Linked DNA regions of Homo sapiens: region 2 is linked to region 1. The links are contacts of gene promoters, found by promoter capture Hi-C in human tissues and cell types (Jung and others, 2019). All regions are on one chromosome and are shown on one strand. The core of a region is centred on a gene start or on the middle of the fragment in contact, and the rest is flanking DNA. Distances in the headings are between cores, read along the strand shown.

The links. The method cuts DNA at HindIII sites, captures the fragments that hold promoters and counts their contacts. A contact is called where the count stands out against the background at its distance.
Region 2: a contact is called between a fragment that was not itself captured here and the fragment with the promoter of C8orf17 in region 1, in 2 of the 25 tissues and cell types used here (H1 embryonic stem cells and pancreas).

The regions. Positions count from the first base shown.
Region 1 is chr8:139,929,996-139,932,959 of GRCh38, forward strand. It overlaps C8orf17 (chromosome 8 putative open reading frame 17), which reads left to right and starts at 1,425. Exons shown (of 1, transcript NR_172942.1): 1 at 1,425-2,964. The region is part of intron 19 of TRAPPC9 (trafficking protein particle complex subunit 9); the gene reads right to left. The HindIII fragment of the contact is 16,447 bases long and covers 1-2,964 here.
Region 2 is chr8:139,984,478-139,987,441 of GRCh38, forward strand. The region is part of intron 19 of TRAPPC9 (trafficking protein particle complex subunit 9); the gene reads right to left. Among named protein-coding and RNA genes, the nearest start is that of C8orf17, 55 kb to the left of the region's middle. The HindIII fragment of the contact is 4,998 bases long and covers 1-2,964 here.

The DNA of each region.
Region 1 (2,964 bases), core at 175-2,674:
ACGTGTTTGGCACTGTGCGTGGATTCTGCCGATTCTCTACACTTCTCTGTTATGAACAGGTAATTTAAAGAAAACATTGAGCATCGTGAATGGCATATGCTAGGGGCTGAACAAGCATAACTTCACTTCTCTTATTTCTGGGACCTCCCAGATGCCTAAGAGGTGACAGCCAAGGGGGTGACACTCAGGAAGAGCTGAGACCCTTAAGCCTTCTACGCACTATCTTAATGCATGTTTACCCCTCCATCCCAACTCCTGAGATGGGAAGGCTTATAGTGTGGGGCAGTGGGGCTGCGCCAGCCGGGAGTTGATGTGTAACGTGAACAAGATACAGCCAAGGTGAGCAGTGGCAAGGCCAGCGCGCTCACACAACACGGTTCTCGCCAGTCAACTTCTCCCGTGGTGTCGGTAGGGCAGGTGGGTGGCTCAGGATCACAGGGAAAACAAGGGGGTCGATGACTAGAGCCAAGCCTTGGAAAGGGACTTCTGTTCTGCTTTCCAAGCAGCAATGCTCGCATCAGACAGGAGATAGTCACACCCCTCTTTTTTCCATCCTAGACATCAAACAGACAAAATGGTACCAGTGACAGATTAATATTCAAAGGCCATCTTGATCCTTCTAGACCCGTCAAATACAATAAGGAGCATCCCCCGTGTTTAGCCCCATGGAGGAGGGAACTTATTTTGCAATGAGATTTCGTTTTCAACCAATCCTAGTAACCGGCCTTCCAGAGCTGGAGCTCCCTTAGAAACCCAGCCTCATTCCACCGCTGTCTCATAGATGAGACCCTCTGAGGAGACGCTCAAAACAGGGAAGGAGGCGAAAACGGGGCCACCCAAGGGTTATGAGGATGAAATCACGACGACAGCAACACTGTTGAGTGCTCAGTGTACGCTGGACACCTGCATTAGCTCATTGACTCTGCACTCGGTGGTGCCCCCTTTCATAGGTATGGAAAAAGGCACATGCAGGGTGCCCACCCTGCTGGAATCAGCCCTCAGGTCATGGAGCCTGTTCCCTGTCTGTCCAGGAAGCAACCCCGAGGCCCTGGCTCTTGTCCTCCCACCTCCCAAACTGCCCCAAAGGGGTGAGGAAAAGAGCTTCTAGATGATTCTAACCCCACCTCTATAACCGCAAGCTGTGAGATCCTCGGGAAACACTTCGACCTCATGAGGCTCAGTTTTCTAATCTGAAAAATGAGAATATTAACCATAGACAACTGCCACTCACTGAACACCAGCTGCAGTAGAGCCGAGCATACACGTAATCCTCACCGCAACCATAGGAGCTGGATCCTGACATCCCCATCTCACAGAGGAGGAGACTGAGGTTAATGACGTGGCAAATATCCACAATGACAGTTTCTGCAAGTCTTTCCTAGTGCAATCACCCACAACCACAGCCCTAGAAAGAAGGATGAACACTCTTCCACAGAGGCTGGCACGCACCTTAAGGCAGGTGCCCACTGGAACCCTGTCTGTGGTGTCAAGGATTTTACAGTTGACCTTGAAGACCACCTAGTCCAAAGCTCTCATTGTACAAAAAGCCAAGCCCAGAGGTCACACAAAGCTTTGGACCTGAGCCTCTGGGCCCCGCGGTCTGGAAAGTGCTCCTTTCTCTGCATGCTACGGGGCTATCAACTTGAGCTGGTCCAGTCTGCAGATCTACATCCTGCCCGCCTGAGCAGAGGCGGGTGTGGGACCAGTGCGGATCTCCACGATTTGTCAGCCCATCCTGATAAGTCTGAGGCTCTGACCATCATATCTCATCACAGCATCATTAGGATTACAAGTGCCATGCGGTAGAAGAGGAAGGGAAACACGAACAAAAGGATGAGAAATTAAGCCCATTTCACCCGGAAAAGATGACTCTGATTTATTGCTCTATAGCAGCTGACGATGGCCTGTCAGAGAAATTCTGTGTTGAAAATAAAGAATAAAAATCACCCAGAGTTGTTTTGCCACACATCCAAATTAGAAAATGCTACTCTCCGGATGATTTATGCTTCAATTTTTTCCCTTATTCACAGAGAATTTGTCCAGCATTACAAGAGCACCTAAGAGCAATAATACAATTCAAAAGGAGATAGAAGAGGCCGCAGAGGTGTTGATGTGCGGCTGAGGGCGGGGTGCTGGCCCAAAGGCAGGGCTTTGGTGCTCAGAAGCATTGACCTTACAGGGAGGAACAAGGAGAAACCAGCCAGGCAGGCCCCGCAGGCAGCCCACAGAGCCACTTCGCCGTGCAGCCGAGGGAGTCCCGCACCACGGGGCCTCGCTCAGGGTAGCCACCATGGGAGAATGTCCCCACCTCGTGGATGTCAGGCTTGGCCACAGGTCCTTGGCCACGGGACCTGAGCAGAGTGACATATGCCACACTGGATCAGAAGCACGCTGGACCACCACGTGGTATGGCTCCCTTTCTTTCTCCCGTCATAAGTACAAGATGTTGGCTGACCTGACTCCTGGGGTAGAAATGTCATGTAGACACTGGGCGCGGTGGCTCACGCCTGTAATCCCAGCACTTTGGAAGGCCGAGGCAGGTGGATTGCCTGAGCTCAGGAGTTCGAGACCAGCCTGGACAACATGGTGAAACCCGTCTCTACTAATTTACAAAAAAAATTAGCCAGGTGTGTTGGCACATGCCTGTAGTCCCAGCTACGTGGGAGGCTGAGGCACGAGAATTGCCTGAACCCCAGAGGTGGAGGTTGCAGTGAGCCGAGATGGTACCTCTGCACTGCAGCCTGGGCAACAGAATGAGACTGTGTCTTCAAAAAAAAAAAGCACTGTCATGCAGGGCAGGGTCCCAAGGCCCCAGCCAACCTCTCGTTGACATGTAATGTAAGAAGATGTCAACTCATGCTTATAGTCACTGACATTTAGGAATAGTCTGTTACCACAGCATAAGCTGGTAAAAAAAAAAAAAAAAATCATACAGCTCTTCTTCCCGGAACGCCCCTGCACCTC
Region 2 (2,964 bases), core at 230-2,729, 55 kb after region 1:
GTGCCTCCTCGTAGGGGAACGGGAGAGCCAGGAGAGAGGTTCGGCTCAGGACTCTGGGAAGGAACTGGATACTCAAGACACAAAGCCTGGAAGGACAGGGACCAGGTCTGAGGTCTGTAAGGTGCTGTCCGGCGTTGCGAAGTAAGGTAGAGCCATTTCCACTTCCTCCACCTGCACTGCTCTGCACAACCCCTCCACGGAGGCCGAGTGTGCATCTGACCCACAGGAGGCCGGTGAGGCACTGAGAGAGGTTTGGGAAAGGGAGGGGAGGGGAATCATGCATTCTAGGGCTCAGGGCAGAGTTGCATGGATTCATGGGTATCCCCAGCAGTGGGCACAGCAGGGGAAGCGCCTAAGATGACTTCCCAGATGGACGTAACCTCATGACCTCTAGTTCACCCAACGCTCCCACCCGGCCCGGGACAGCAAGATGCCCTTGTCAGGCAGAAAAGGGCAGCCGCTCTGGCTGGGTTAGACACTTGTCCCAATGTGTTGCCAATCCCCAGCGAGGAGGGGCCCTTATTTATTCTTCTCAGCACGCCTGAAGCCTGACACGGGGCTTACCACACAGCAAATTGCTGAAGTATCAATATTTATTGAATGAATATTTTATGAATAAATAAAAGAATATTCGAGTTAGAAGCATTCAGAAATGAGAATTTAAGCAAAAACTTAATAACAAAAAAGCCTGAAGCACAAGACTAAATTGTGATTATTTGCAGCTGGGATTGTTAATGTCATCAGCCTCACATTGCCAAGAATGAGTCAAGCTTACTATACAGGACAAGCTTAGCAATTTATAATTTCTTTAAAGTGTTTTATACTAGTGTCATAAGACGACCAGATTTATGTTCTCTGGGATCTTGGACTACATCAAGTTATTTAGATAAGAAAGAGCAGTCCGAGGGCTGACAGTTCCCTATGCAGCAGCACTGGACCCAGCACTGCCAAAGGCGTAGACCCCAGAGGATGCATCGATGCTCCCTGAAGGCACCTGTCCTCATCCTGAGGAACCTGAGGTGCCGCAGCATCCAGCCACAGCCCTCACGGCTCATACACACAGAAGCATACACCAGCCCCACGCGCATACCCACACCCAAGTGACAAGTCCTTTCCAAGGGATCTTGGGAAGGAGGATTTTCTGGCACCTCTCAAAGGCAGGCCATAAATGTCCCCCAAGCCATTGAATCTCTAGCTTCCAGCAGCCCAAACAGGACCTGCTACAAGGCTGCAGGGCCTGGCTTGACATTCATGCGTGTCATTAACAATAATCACATTAAATATGAATACCCTGGAAGCCACCTCACAGTGAGTGCATTAGCATGGAAATGAATAAAGTGGCATATTTACACAATGAAATATTAATAGCAGTTCAAATGAAAGAACCAGATTTATATTTAGCTCCAAAGAATAACGCTGATTTTTAAAGTTTTAAAAGGACATATATGATATGGAACCACTTATGCCATTGAAAAAAAGACTCTCGGCCAGGCCTAGTGGCTCTTGCCTGTAATTCCAGCACTTTGGGAGGCCGAGGCGGGCGGATCACAAGGTCAGGAGTCCAAGACCAGCCTGACCAACATGGTGAAATCCCATCTCTACTAAAAATACAAAAATTAGCCGGGCGTGGTGGCAGGTGTCTGTAATCCTGGCTACTCAGGAGGCTGAGGCAGGAGAAACGCTTGAACCCAGGAGGTGGAGGTTGCAGTGAGCCAGGACTGTGCCACTGCACTCCAGCCTGGGTGACAGAGCGAGATTCTGTATCAAAAAAACAAAAAACCAAAAAACAAAAAAACTGTCAAAATAATGTTTGGGTGGGGATATATGTCTATACAATAAAGTAGTAAAACATGGATGTGGAATGATACCATCACCTCTAAGAAAGAAATTACCTTAAAGAGGAAGGAAAGAGAAAAGAAGATGGGATGAGGTGGGCAGAAAAGAAGAGCTTAGCTATTTTTACTTTTATTTTTGCCAACAATTTCTTCTAAAAAATTTCAAATATAAGGTGAAAAAGATTTACACTGAACACCCCCCATATGCCCATTAAGAGACGCTACTGTTAACATTATACTATATTTGCATTACCACCTAATGTGTTCATCTGCCCATCTATTAATCTGTCAGATATTTTATAGAACTCAAAGACTATTGTAGCTATCATGCCCCGACCCCAAACCCTCCAGTGTGCATATCATTAACAGAGCTCAACACTGGCTTAGTTTTTCCTTCTGCTATAAAGCTGATACATCATGAAATGTACAAATCTCAAGTGATTAGTTGCCGAGTTTTGACGAATAGATACATGTGTGTAACCCAAAACCCTACTGATGTATACAACATGACCATCACCTAGAAAATTACCTTATGCCCTTTCCTGATCAAACCCTGTTCCAATCTCTCCAGAAGGAACCAATGTTCTGAGTTTTTCCATCGTAAATTGGTTCTGCTTGTTCTATAGGTTGGTGTAAAAGTAATGGCAAAAGCCGCAATTACTTTTGCAGCAACCTACAGCATTTCGTATCAATGGAACCACATGGCATATGCACTTTGGGTAAGGCTCCTTTCACCCAGCATCCTGTTCCTGAGAGTTGCAAGTGCTGTTCTGTGTATGAGTAATTCATTCGTTTTTGTTGCAGAGTACCACACCATTCCGTTTGTAAGAAAACACCGCCATTTGTTTGTCCGTTCTCCTGTAATGGACACCTGGCCTCTATTTTCTGGCTAGAACGTTGTATAGGTCTTCTTGTGACCATATGTTTCATATTATCCTTAAATAAATAACTAGGGTTGAAATAGCTGGGCAAAGGGTAAGTGTATGTTTAATTTTACAGGATAGCCCCAGACCTTTTTCCAAAGCAGCTGCACTATTTTATATCCCCACCCACAAGGCATGAGAGTTCCTGTTGCTCCACACCCTCACCAACATTTGGTGCTGTCTTTAACCATCCTGATGAGTGTCTC